Regions from separate parts of the Homo sapiens genome. Here regions 1 and 3 are each linked to region 2. Evidence: promoter capture Hi-C in human tissues and cell types (Jung and others, 2019). All regions are on one chromosome and are shown on one strand. Each heading gives the region's core, a stretch centred on a gene start or on the middle of the fragment in contact. The rest is flanking DNA. Distances are from core to core; before and after follow the strand shown. Region 1 overlaps BTBD9 (BTB domain containing 9). Region 2 holds the start of MDGA1 (MAM domain containing glycosylphosphatidylinositol anchor 1). Region 3 overlaps BTBD9 (BTB domain containing 9).

The links. Contacts are between HindIII fragments. The study calls those that stand out against the background at their distance.
Region 1: a fragment that was not itself captured here is called in contact with the fragment with the promoter of MDGA1 in region 2 in 1 of the 25 tissues and cell types used here (H1 embryonic stem cells).
Region 3: a contact is called between a fragment that was not itself captured here and the fragment with the promoter of MDGA1 in region 2, in 2 of the 25 tissues and cell types used here (dorsolateral prefrontal cortex and hippocampus).

What each region holds. Positions count from the first base shown.
Region 1 is chr6:38,378,131-38,383,049 of GRCh38, forward strand. All of the region lies in intron 6 of BTBD9 (BTB domain containing 9), which reads right to left. Among named protein-coding and RNA genes, the nearest start is that of BTBD9-AS1, 100 kb to the right of the region's middle. The HindIII fragment of the contact is 4,681 bases long and covers 1-3,621 here.
Region 2 is chr6:37,696,447-37,700,805 of GRCh38, forward strand. It overlaps MDGA1 (MAM domain containing glycosylphosphatidylinositol anchor 1), which reads right to left and starts at 1,437. Exons shown (of 17, transcript NM_153487.4): 1 at 299-1,437. The coding sequence starts at 365. RefSeq lists enhancers at 1-60, 61-790 and silencers at 333-492, 523-812, 993-1,052, 1,113-1,242, 1,303-1,372 and 3 more. The HindIII fragment of the contact is 32,962 bases long and covers 1-4,359 here.
Region 3 is chr6:38,292,250-38,296,854 of GRCh38, forward strand. All of the region lies in intron 7 of BTBD9 (BTB domain containing 9), which reads right to left. Among named protein-coding and RNA genes, the nearest start is that of BTBD9-AS1, 190 kb to the right of the region's middle. The HindIII fragment of the contact is 6,702 bases long and covers 1-4,605 here.

The DNA of each region.
Region 1 (4,919 bases), core at 31-2,530, 680 kb after region 2:
TCTGCCTCCTGCATCTATCATTGACAGGATTTCCTTATACAGCAATATAGCTAACTTATGTGCAGAGAAACCCCTCCTCATGAAGAACATCTAAAAATCATAGGCAAAACTTTTCTTTTTTTTTTTTTTTTGAGATGGAGTCTTGCTGTGTCGCCCAGGCTGGAGTGCAGTGGTGTGATCTTGGCTCACTGCAACCTCCACCTCCTAGGTTTAAACAACTCTCCTGCCTCAGCCTCCTTAGTAGCTGGGATTGCAGGCACATATCACCATACCTGGGTAATTTTCGTATTTTTAGTAGAGACGGGGTTTCACCATGTTGGCCAGGCTGGTCCTGACCTCAGACGATCTGCCCACTCTGCCTCCTGAAGTGCTGGGATTACAGGCATGAGCCACCGCACCTGGCCCTAAACGAAACACTTAAACTTAAATTCTCTTAAAAGTATGGTTAAGTTGGCAGTAAAGGCCAGGTGCAGTGGCTCATGCCTGTAATCCCAGCACTTTGGGAGGCCAAGTCAGGTAGACCGCTTGAGGTCAGGAGTTCTAGATCGGCCTGACCAACATAGTGAAACCCCATCTCTACTAAAAATACAAAAATTAGCTGGGCGTGGTGGTGGGTACCTGTAATCTCAGCTACTCGGGAGGCTGAGGCAGAAGAATCACTTGAACCCAGGAGGCGGAGGTTGCAGTGAGCCGATATGGCACTACTGCACTCCAGCCTGGGCGACAAAGCAAGACTCCATCTCAAAAAAAAAAAAAAAGAAAAAAAAGGGGAGGCAAGAATCGTTGGAAAGGAACCATTCCCCAGGGATGAGTAAGACTTAGAGCTGGTGTTTGCTCTGATGTAGGGTGACCATATAATTTATCGCCCAAACCCGGACATTTTTAAGTATGAATAACTAGGCTACAGCAAATTAATAATTTTCCAGGCATACCAAGATATATGATCACTCTACCCTGAGGTCATCTGCTGATCCCCGGTAGCAGTTTGGATTTTAACAGGCCACATGTAGGCTTGGGGAAAGGAGATAAAGCTTGGGGTCTGAACAGGGAGAGATGCTGAAGCAGAGGCTCCTGAACAAAGTCCAGACTCCCAAAAGGCAACATTTTTAGTGGCTGACTTTCAAAAAAGAAAGAAATCTATCTTGCAAAAGGAGATAGGGCTGAAATACAGGTAAGAATGGGGTGAAAGCTTAGAGGGCAGCCAGTTCAGACTGAAGCAACTTAATTCAAAAGACTTGAATATTAAAGGCTCTCATCACCACTGTAATCTCTGTAATCTGACAAATCTTCTAGCGGGTTTGCTCTACTAAAATAAGGGATTAATCCAAGAAATGGAAGAGAAGAAATCAAAGAAGTATGAAATTCAATTTGGGAGACAGGCAAAGAGAATTCCAAGGATAGCAACAAAGGAGAGGCTCAGATTGACAGCTGTGCATAAGGCTGAGAAAGCAAGAAGGTAAAGAAGGTTCTAGAAAGGATATCTCTTAAGAAAAAAAGGAAACAGAGTGCTGGGAGAAAACTGTATTTAGATGCTACTAGAAGGTGTAAAAAAGATTATCAATAAGTATTAAAAACTAACTTCAGGAAAAACAATCAAACAAGAAGGGAAACAATCATACCACATATGCTCGGATATTAATTATATTTGCATGACCACAGTGAAAATTACTTTTACTACAAATTGTAACATAACTATATTGGGAGGATAGGGAAGGAATGCACAGGAGACGGCAGTGTAAAAGAGCCAAACAGTCATCTATTGTCATATTAGGAAATTAATAGAAGGTGACTACAATTGATTAATCAAAAGAAAGATGTCCCACATAGAAAATATAGGTATGTATAAATGCCCAAAGAAAGAGCTAAAAGAGTGGTAAGTCATTGCCTTTGGAGATGGAGACTGGAGTAAATGAAGAAAGGTGGGTGTGGGAATTGCTGTATTTGTTATATACTATATGCTCTTTAGTACTATTTGACTTTTTAAAGTATATGCCTGTATTACTTTAATAAAAATAAAAAAATTGTAAACATATATGAAATGAAATTATTTTCAAGAATATGGGTGAAATAAAGATAGAACTTTCATAATTTCAAAATAAGGAATTTCCAGACAAAGAAAAATAAAAGAATTCATCATCAACAGATTCTTACTAAAGGAAATTCTGAAAGATATACTTCAGGAAGAAGAAAAATGATCCCAGAAGGAAAATCTGAGATGCAAGAAGGAATGGTGAGCCAAGAATAGGAAATATTTATGGATAATGCTAAACACACATTGACTAGATAAAACAATAATATTGTCCCACTTGTGGGTTAAAAATCAAATAAAATTCTAGGAAAGAACAGCATATAGGTCAGATCAAGGGTGATGGGAAATAACTCTCTTCTAACATCCTTATTGAGTCTAGAAGAGGGTAGGCTGGGTGAGGTGGCTCATGCCTATAATCCCAGCATTTTGGGAGGCTGAGGCAGGAGGTATACTTGAGGCCAAGAGTTTGAGATCAATCTGGGAAACACAGCAAGACCCTGTCTCTAAAAAGGAAAAGGAAAGAGTTTTTTTAAAATACAGCTGGGAGTGGTAATGTGCGCCTGTAGTCCCAGCTATTCAGAAGGCTGAGGTGGGAGGATCCCTTGAGCATAGGAGCTCTAGGCTGCAGTGAGCTATGATCATGACACTGCACTTCAGCCTGGGCAACAGAGCGAGACCCTGTCTCTACAAAGGAAAAGGAAAAAGGGTAAAGAAATGGTTTAACTTTAGAATAGCAAATTAAAAATGCATGTTAGAATAGCAAATTAAAAATGCATGTTAAAATTTCTGAAATCTAGTATAACCACTAAAATAGGATGTATAACTTCCAGTATAGTAAGAGGGGGTCAGAAACCAGAAAGAAGAAAAGCAACAATACAAAAGTAAACATAAAAGGAGGAAAGAATAAAAGAAGTAAAATTTAAAAAAATTCAACAAATAGCAAAAAATGATAGGGGAGAAATAGATCAAATGTATTAGGAAACATAATTAATGTACATGGACTAAATTCTATAGTTTAAAAGACAGATAACCAAACTGAAGAAAAGTAAAATCCTATGACACGCTATTTACAAGAAACAATAAAATATAAGGGCAAAGGAAGCCTGAAACTAAAGGTATGGAAAAAGACATAACAAGTGTAGATGCAAAAGTTACAATAATGTCAGAAAAAACAGACATTAAAGCAAAAAGCATTACTCAAGAAAGAGGGTAACTATATACTGATAAAAGGTTCACTTAATTATAAATATATAACAATTCTAAGTGCATATGCAGCTAATATAGTTTCAAAATATACTAAGCAAAAAGTAGCAAACTGAGAAACTGAGAAATCCACTATCAATGGCAGATTTTAACTGCTTTCTCTCAGCAACTGATAGATCAACCAGACAAAGTCAGAAAAAATATAGAATATTTGAGCAACATAATTAAAATAACATGAACATAAAGAGAATAATGTTCTCAATAACTGAAAAATATACATTCTTTTCAAGTACACAAAGGATTTTATTTTTAAAGACTACGTTCTAGGTAAGCGTCAACAAATTTTAAAGGATCAGTATCACACAGATCACTTTCTCTAATCACAATCAATCAACTGGAAAACAATAACAACTCTACATACACACATACATACACACCTTAAAAATAACATCAAAAACACACGTACGACTGCAATCTAAATACATTTCCAAAGAATCCACGGGTCAAAGAAAAAATAAGTAATGGAAATTAGAAAATACTTAGATAATATAAGAATAATAATGAAAATAACAATTAATGAAAATAACAATTACTAAAACTTGTGGGATGACATCACTAAAAATAGTGTAGTAAGAGACTCCAGGGTTCCATCTCTTAATGAAAATCAACTAAAGTACTGGCAAAAACTGTCCGAATCAACTTTTGCAGAATTATGGAACCTAATTAAAACCCTTCAACAATTAGGGGAAGGCTTGGTGAAGAAGGAAGCTGCTGCAGTAAGAGAGCACTGTGGTGTTTTAAATTGCCCACCTACTATCTCCCACAACACCTTAGATTTGTGGTGGCTGTGAGGACAGCAGCCCACACTGCTGGTGAAGGTGTCCAGTGCCAGAGGGAACAATAAGAACCTTAATCTCAACTAATTGTGGTTGTGGATTTTGACCTACCTGGTAGCTCCCTTAAGGACCAGCTCAAGAGTTTGCCTTTGTTCTGCCAGCCTCAGATCCTTCCCAGGAGTGAGGTGGCTTCCCAAGTAGCTTTTACAGAACACATTTAAAGGCACAATTATTGGTCACAGCAGCCTGGGGAGGCTGCAGTGAGCTGAGATTGTGCCATTGCACTCCAGCCTGGACAACACAGCCAGACCTTGTCTCAAAAAAAAAAAAAAAGAAAAGAAAAAAAAACAACAGCAGTAGAAAAAGGAAATAATAATGATCAGAGCAAAAAATAATGAAACAAGAAACAATGACACAGTACAGATAATTTTAAATCCAAAGAAGGTTCTTTGAAAAGGGTGACAAAATTTAAGAAAGATGGATTGATAAAAGAGAGAAAGGACAAACAATTTTAGGCATGAGGAAAACAAAATACTTAAGATGCTAAAGAGATTAAAAAGATAAGAAATTATAAATAACTTTAAGTCAATAAATTCGAAACCTTAGTTGAAATGGACAAATTTCTAGGAAAATCTGAATTATCAAAACCAACTCAATGAGAAATAGAAAACCAGTGTGGTGCTATAAACATTAAGATATTTAATCAACAGTTAATAGTCTTCCCACAAGGCCCAGAAAGTTTTATAGGTGAATTCTACCAAACATTCAAGAAACAGACAATTTTAATATATACAAATTCCTCCAGGGAAAGAAAAAGAATACTCTTCAACGCATTTTATGAGGCTGATACA
Region 2 (4,359 bases), core at 187-2,686:
GTCTCCCGAGCCGACCGGGTGCTCTCAAGGGTTCCTAATCATTCCCACCTCTAGCAGGGTGTGGGAAAGTGGGTGCCTCCTCCTGACATCCCGGCTTCCCACCAGACCCTACGACCGGCCCCTGTGTTCCGAAGCAGCTAGCTCGGTCTCCACGCGCCCTGGAGAGGGCGGGGACGCGGGCATCCACTCCAGAGTCCGAGTCGAGGTCTCCACCAAACCCCGGCAGCGCGCACTTTGCGCCTCTTGCAAAGTTTCCGCGCGAGGTTAAGCCAAGGTGGAGCGGGACGCGGGCTCTTACCGTAGACTCCTTGTCCCCGGCAGTGGAAGGGGATCAGCGCCAGAAGTAGAAGGCAGGTCACCTCCATCTTCACGGCCGGTGCTTCATCCCCGCGAGGCGGCGCAGCCCGAGAGGCGGCGGGGGGCGCATTCGCCGGGGCCCCGCGACGCCCCTATGTCCCCCCCTTTCCCTGAGAGGTGAGAGAGAGAGCGGCGACGAAGACCAGGAGACTGAAGAGGCGGAGGTGGCGGCGACCCGTGTTTCTCCTCCGGCGGGGCCGCTGCCCGCGTGGGGACGCAGGGGGCGCTGGCCCAGCCCCGGGTGCCTCGGCGCGCCCGGCACAGCAGCCAGCGCCCCGACCCGAGGAGCCCGGCCGCCGAGCCGCCCCGGGTACCCAGGGCCGTCCGCGCGGGATGCTAGGCGCCGGGGACCTCTCGGCGGCGGAGGCGGCGCTTCGATCCAACAGGCCACGGACGACTGACAAACTTGTCGTTTCCCCGCACTGGGGCCGCCCCTCAGCGGAGCGGAGTCGGGGAGGCCGGGGCTCCGCTCGAGTTAATCAATCTGCTGTTTCCAGTCCTGCGGCCGCTGCCGTGGGCTCAGCGGCCCGACTCCAGGGGGCCGGGCTGAAAGCACTCGCGGCGGCGAAGCAGCCCCGGGCCCGGCCCTCCTGATCCGGGGAGCAGCGCGGGCTGGGTTCGGCCGAGGGACGAGCGCCGCGGGTCCCCGGGTCCGTGAAGTTAGCCGAGCCGCCGATAAACCCGGGGGAAGAATAGCAGCCCGGCGCCCCGCGGGAATCTGGAGAGCAATTCCAGGCAAGAAGGGCCCCAGAAAACGGGGAAAGGAGGAAAGTTTGAGTCTTTTGAAAAATATTCGCGCTCTCGCCCAGGCCGGGGCTGCGGCGCGGGCGCCGCTCGCCGCCTCCGCTCGCCGCGCTCCTCTCCCGCCGTCTGGCCGCGGCCGTAGCCCTCCCGGGCTCCGAGCTCTCGGGAGAGCGGGGCTACGCCGCGCCCCAAGTTGGTCGTCCCCGCCCCCGCCCGGCGGCCTTGGCCTGCGGGGGCCCAGAGCGGGCGGGGCCGGGCCGGGCTCCGGGGCGCGGCGGCCGCTCGGCTCCGGGCCGCGGGAGCGCTCCGCTCGCTCAGCAACTTGGGCTTTGCTGTGCTGCTTTTTCGCCCCTCCGAGCTTTTCATTCCGCGCTCCTCCCGCCTCCCTCCCTCTCTTCCTCCTCCCTCCTCCTCGCGTCTCCTCGTTCGGTCTCTCGCTCTCCCACCCGTTGTCGCTCGCTCTCCTGTTTGATTCCCCTCCAGTTAAAAAAAGGAGCCAATTAAAGGCAGCCCAGCTCGCCTGGCCCAGCCTCTGTCCAATTTCCTCGCCTCCCCCAGGACCAATTAGAGAAAACAAAACAGGGCTGGGGGAAGCTGACTGCCTGCCTTTCTCTTTCTCTTTCTCTTTCTCTTTCTCTCTCTCTCTCTCTCTCTCTCTCTCTCTCTCTCTCTCTCTCTCTCTCTTTCTCTCTCTCTCCTCTCTCTCTCTTCTCTCTCTCCTCTCTCTCTCCCTCTCGCTCTCTCTCCCTTCCTCTCCTCTCCTCTCTTTCCCTTTCTCCTCTCCCTCTCTCTCTCTTCCTCTCTCCGCCCCCTAACATTCCCCCCCAACCCCGCCCAGCAGGAAAATGTCAGAAAGCAGAAATGGATCCATCTATCCCGAGGACAGTGGCGGAGGGACCTGGGTTTCGGCGGGGGCTCTGCAGCCGCGCGCTCGCACACTCGCTGTTCTCCAGCCTTGCACACCCAGACTAGCTGGCCGAGCCGGGTGCACCGTTGCCAGCAGCCCGCGGGGCAAACACGGCCGCTCGCTTCGGAGACCCATGCCCGCAGGGCACTGCACACTTCGTAAATGTTTTGCACTTTGGGGAGGCGGGACTGAAGCGGGGGTCCTAGGGAAAGGCCGGGCGCCTGCGGTTCCTGGGGTCCTGCAGCCGCGCGAGACGGGCCGCGGCTGTGGGTCTGCAAGGCTGTCTGCCCGGCTCGAGAGGCCCCCGCCCCTTTCCAGGCGTCTGGTGCTGGGGCCGGGCCGGAGCAGCTGGCGGAGAGGTCGCGCTGAGAGCTCCTGCCCTTGCCGCGGCCCACAGGTTGCCAACAGGTTTGCTCGCACGACCCCTCCGCCAGAGCTTCCCTAAGTCACCCCACATTTTCCTCGGCTAGCCACTCTTCCCATCTTGCCTCCCCTCGGGACCTCAGGCGCCCCCAAGCGCCCCGGGGGCACACCTCCTTCCGGCTGCCGAACCCGAGCCCCGCTCCAGCGGCGGGAGTCCGGCACTCGGGTCTCAGCCGCCTCGAAGGGGCCCTCGCGGAGCAGGAGTGCGGAGAACGCTCCTCCCAAACGCCCGCGGGGAGGGGCGTAGGCTGGCAAGCGAGGCTGGTGGCCTCCCCCGCGCCTCCGATCCCGCCCCGCGCCCAACCCGGGTCCTGCTAATCTCACCTGCTCCACCTGTCGCCGTTATTTATCTCAGCGTGTGCGCAAGAATTGTTTTAGGTCGGCCCGTGGGAGCGCAGACAATCGCAGCAGCTAACAAGCGGGGAGACTACGAACCCCCCCTCCCTTCGCCCCCTGGAACTGCTCAATATCTTGATGGTGGTTCCACGGCTCTATGCATTTGTCAAAACTCAAAGATCTCCACACTCCAAAAAGGTTAGTCTGCATATAAATTGAAACATAAATTTTTTTAAAATAATAATAATGAACCGTCCCTTCCCCAGGCCCATTTCCTGCTGGGTCTCTCCTCCCTTGACTCTCCAGGGCTTAAGCCCCACCGGAGCGCGCGCTCCTGACTGCTGGAAGAGGAGCGGGAGGTGTCGGGAAGTGCCTGGTGGCATGGGGGGGTTCCACCTTCCTTTCTCAGCCCCCTTTCTGTCCATCTCAGGAAGCCCGAGAACATCCGAAGATTCCTATTCTCTAGCCCACCTCCACTCGTTTGCGCCTCCCTTGTGCCCTCTTCCGTCTTTTCTCTCCTTTCTACCCCGTGGGTCCAAGGCTGATAGGAAGTCCAGACTCAGTGCGGTGCTCCCAGCAGATGCCAGCTGCAGACATGTTCAGTGAATTCACGAATGATGCCCATCATGGCCAGATATCACAGACCTGGGATACCCTCAGGGTAGCCATCCTTTCACTCCCCAGCCCCGGACTGTTACCTCAAAGGCAAAAAATTCATTTTCTGTCCCACAGAGATACACAGCCACCATGCCTCTTCCCGCCTCCCCCATCCAGTCAGAAAAGGAAGTGGTGCCAATTGAGGGAGTGATGAGGGATAGCTTCTTCTATTGTCATCCTCTTCCCATTATTAGAGGGTTCCTGGAAGTCTCTACCCCTTCCAGGAAGCTCTCAGGGAGTGATCACAGCGACTGTGGCTCTTCCTGGCTTTGCCCATTCTGAGCTGAATGTGTACTTCTCCATGTCGTGCGAAACTGCGCTCTGATTTTCCAATTAGCTGTTCCAACACCAAACAGCAGTCAATTGCTCCTCTTTGGCTTTGGGGTGAGTTACTGGGGACAGAGAACTGCACTGACTCAGCTGACATTCTCTTGACTTTGCCCTCTCTAAACTCACACACTAGCCTGGAGGAGAAAGAAGGTTCATGATGGCGGGGTGGGGGGAACAGAGGACCAAGTTAGCCAGGCTGGGATTGAACATTTGCTGTAGCTAATCCACTTGTGAATACTCTGCAGCTAATTGTATGCAGTGTAAATACCTTGACAGCCTGTTTGTGTGTGTCTGTAAATTCAGCTGTCTCCTCCCCCAAGTGTGCCCTGCCTGCTGCCTCAACACAGCCCAGTGTCTGACAATGGGAGGCAACCTCAGAGAAGGGAAAGAGCCCTAGACATCAGTCCTGCGTCCCAGTCCTAACCTCTCTAGGCCTCAGTTTCCCCAGATGTAAACTAGGTAAGATCCCTGTCTTCCTAGAGAGAAGTGGAGTAATAAGAATAACAGCTGACACCACATGCCAGGCACTGTATTAACTATTTAATCTTCATAACCATTATGTAAGACAGGGCTGTTATTCTCATGGAATGACATAGGAAGATGTA
Region 3 (4,605 bases), core at 897-3,396, 600 kb after region 2:
CACCACGCCCGGCTGAAATTTTCTTTTTTGTTGTTGTTGTGTCTCTGCCAGGTTTTGGTATCAGGATGATGCTGGCCTCATAAAATGAGTTACAGAGGAGTCCTTCTTTTTCTATTGTTTGGAATAGTTTCAGAAGGAATGGTACCAGCTCCTCTTTGTACCTCTGGTAGAATTCGGCTGTGAATCCTTTTGGTCCTGGGCTTTTTTTTGGTTGGTAGGCTATTAATTACTGCCTCAATTTCAGAATTTGTTATTGGTCTATTCAGGGATTCGACTTCTTCCTGCTTTAGTCTTGGGAGGGTGTATGTGTCCAGGAATTTATCCATTTCTTCTAGGTTTTCTACTTTATTTGCTTAGAGGTGTTTATAGTATTCTCTGATGGTAGTTTATATTTCTGTGGGATCAGTGGTGATATTCCCTTTATCATTTTTTTATTGTGTCTATTTGATTCTTCTCTCTTTTCTTCTTTATTAGTCTGGCTAGTGGTCTATCTATTTTGTCAATCTTTTCAAAAAACCAGCTCCTGGATGCATTGATTTTTTGAAGGGTTTTTCATGTCTCTATCTCCTTCAGTTCTGCTCTCCTCTTAGTTATTTCTTGTCTTCTGCGAGTTTTTGAATTTGTTTGCTCTTGCTTCTCTAGTTCTTTTAATTGTGATGTTAGGGTGTCGATTTTAGGCCTTTCCTGCTTTCTCCTGTGGGCATTTAGTGCTATAAATTTCCCTCTGAACACTGCTTTAGCTGTGTCCCAGAGATTCTGGTATGTTGTGTCTTTGTTCTCATTGGTTTCAAAGAACTTATTTATTTCTGCCTTAATTATATTATTTACCCAGTAATCATTCAGGAGCAGTTGTTCAGTTTCCATGTAGTTGTGCAGTTTTGAGTGAGTTTCTCCACTGCTCAAGGAAATAAGAGAGAACACAAACGAATGGAAAAACATTCCATTTGTTTTTCATGGATAGGAAAAATCAATATCGTGAAAATGGCCATACTGCCCAAAGTAATTTATAGATTCAATGCTATCCCCATCAAGCTCCATTGAATTTCTTCATAGAATTAGAAAAAACTACTTTAAATTTCACATGGAACCAAAAAAGAGCTTGCATAGCCAAGACAATCCTAAGAAAAAAGAACAAAGCTGGAGGCATTATCCTACCTGACTTCAAACTACACTACAAAGCTACAGTAACCAAAACAGCATGGTACTGGTACCAAATAGATATATGGACCAATGGAACAGAACAGAGGCCTCAGAAATAATGCCACATATCTACAACCATCTGATCTTTGACAAACCTGACAAAAACAAGCAACGGGGAAAGGATTCCCTATTTAATAAATGGTGCTGGGAAAACTGGCTAGCCACATGCAGAAAACTGAAACTGAACCCCTTCCTTACACTTTATACAAAAATTAACTCAAGATGGATTAAAGTCTTAAATATAAGACCTAAAACTATAAAAACTCTAGAAGAAAACCTAGAGGCAGTACCATTCAGGACATAGGCATGGGCAAAGACTTCATGACTAAAACACGAAAAACAATGGCAACAAAAGCCAAAATTGACAAATGGGATCTAATTGAACTAAAGAGCTTCTGCACAGCAAAAGAAACCATCATCAGAGTGAACAGGCAACCTACAGAATGGGAGAAAATTTTTGCAATCTATCCATCTGACAAAGGGCTAATATCCAGAATCTACAAGGAACTTCAACAAATTTACAAGAAAAAAAACAAACAACCCCATCAAAAAGCATGCAAAGGATATGAACAGACACTTCTCAAAAGAAGACATTTATGCCAACAAACGTATGAAAAAAAGCTCAACATCACTGGCCATTAGAGAAATGCAAATCAAAACCACAACGAGATACCATCTCATGCCAGTTAGAATGGCGATCATTAAAAGTCAGGAAACAACAGATGCTGGAGAGGATGTGGAGAATTAGGAACACTTTTACACTGTTGGTGGGACTGTAAACTAGTTCAACCATTGTGGAAGTCAATGTGGCGATTCCTCAAGAATCTAGAACCAGAAATACCATTTGACCCAGCCATCTCATTACTGGGTATATACCCAAAGGATTATAAATCATGCTGCTATAAAGAGACATGCACACATATGTTCACAATAGCAAAGACTTGGAACCAACCCAAATGCCCATCAATGATAGACTGGATAAAGAAAATGTGGCACATATACACCATGGAGTACTATGCAGCCATAAAAAGGATGAGTTCATGTCCTTTGCAGGGACATGCATGGAGCTGGAAATCATCACTCTCAGCAAACTAACACAGGAACAGAAAACCAAACCCCACATGTTCTCACTCATAAGTGGGAGTTAAACAATGAGAACACATGGACACAGGGAGAGGAACATCACACACAGGGGCCTGTCAGGGGGTGGGGATCTAGGAGAGGGATAGCATTACGAGAAATACCTAATGTAGATGATGGGTTGATGGGTGCAGCAAACCACCATGGCATGTGTATACCTATGTAACAAACCTGCACATTCTGCACATGTATCCCAGAACTTAAAGTATAATAAAAAAATAAGAAAATAAAATTTTGTGCCAAAAAAAAAAAAAACCTTTATACTCTCAACTAATTGCTCCACATCCTCACCAACTCCTGGTAATGTCAGACAGGTAAGTGTGAAATGGGATCTCAGTGTGATTTTAGCTTTTAACTTTTTTGTTAGGTGAAGTTGAACATTTTTTTTTCTCTTTTTTTCCCTCTGGAATCATTCTCAATTTCTCTTCTGTAAACTATTTTTATCTTTTGCCTATTTTTCTATTATCTTTCTAATTGATTTTCAGGATGCCAAGCTTTTGTAGGTCAATTTATTGAGTTGAAATATTTAATCTTTTTCTTTATGACTTATGCTTTTCCCTTTTCAAAAAAATTCTATTATTGTTGTTGTTGTTGAGACACGGTCTCATTCTGTCATCCAGGCTGGAGTGCAGTGGTACGATCACGGTTCACTACAGCCTTGGACTCCCAGGCTCAAGCAATCCTCCTGCCTCAGCCTCTCGAGTAGCTGGAACCATAGGCAGGTGCCATCATGCCTGGCTAATTTTTTAAATTTTTTATAGAGACGAGGTCCCATTTTGTTGCCCAGGCTGGTCTTGAACTCCTGGGCTCAAGCAATCCTCCTGCTTCAGCTTCCCAAAGTGCTGGGGTTATAGGCATGAGCCACCACGCCTGGCAAACTTTTCCTTTCTTGTTTATAAGTTCTTTCCTACACCAAATTCATAAGGATATTTTCCTAATTTTCTCCTACAATTTCTCAAACTTTTCTTTTTATGTTTGTTTCTTTAATCTATTCAGAATTTATTTTTAGTATGCTGTGAGATGAGGATTTTCATCTTTTATTTATAAATATGACTAATTTCCCCAAATAGCATTTAGTGAACAGCCCATCCTTTCCCCCACTAATTTATGTTACTTTAGTCACATATGAAGTTTTTGTATATATTTGCATCTCCATTTAAGATCTGTATTCTGAGGCTGGATATGGTGGCTCATGCCTGTAATAATCCCAGCTCTTTGGGAGGCGGAGGCAGGCGGAGCACTTGAGGCCAGGAGTTTGAGACCAGCTTGGCCAACATGATGAAACCCCATCTCTACTAAAAATACAAAAATTAGCTGGGTGTGATGGTGCATGCCTGTAATCCCAGCTATTGGGAGGCTGAGGCAGGAGAATCGCTTGAACTTGGGAAGTTAAGGTTGCAGTGGGCCGAGATCATGCCACTCCACTCCAGCCTAGGCAACAAAGCGAGACTCTGTCTCAAAAAAACAGAAACAAAAACAAAAAAAGATCTGTATTCTGTTTCACTGGTTGATTTGACTAGCCTTGTGCCTTTACCATGCTGTCTTAATTACCATAATTTTAAAGTAATTGTAAATCTTAGTTAGCTCCTCTTCTCCCCCTCCTTTTCCTTTTCTTTTTTCTTTTACATTGTCATATATTCTTGGCCCTTTCAGGAAAATTTTTTATTTTGTTTAAGTTTTCAAACATACTGGCATACAATATTTCACAGTATAGCTCTTTTTCATTCAAAGTATTATTTATTATACCTTGCCTTTCTTTTTTGCCCAGTTCTATACAGGTTTATCTATTTTATTAGTGCTCTTAAAGAACCAACATTGGGTTTTGTTGATTCTTTTCCTTATTTCCTATTTTACTAAATTCCTGTCTTCTCTTTATTATTTTCTTCCTCCTGCTCCTTTGGATTTATTCTATTTTTTTCCTAACTACTTGAAATGAATGTTTAACTCACTAATCTTTTTCTTTTCTAAAAAAATGTATTTAAAGCTAATATAGTATTTTACTTCTAACTCCTGTTTCACCTTTACAATTTTTTGATATTTAGTGTTTTGAAGTGTACCAGTCAGGTATTGTGTAGAATGTCCCTCAATTTGGGTTTGTCTGATATACAGTATTTTAAAAGTTAATCATTTCTAAATATTTTATAATTTCCTTTATCATTTTTCCTTTGACCCACGAATTATTCAGAAGTACGTTTTCAACTTTCTAAACATCGTTTTTCAAGTTGTCTTTCTGTTACTGATTTTTAATTAAATTGCAATGTGGAA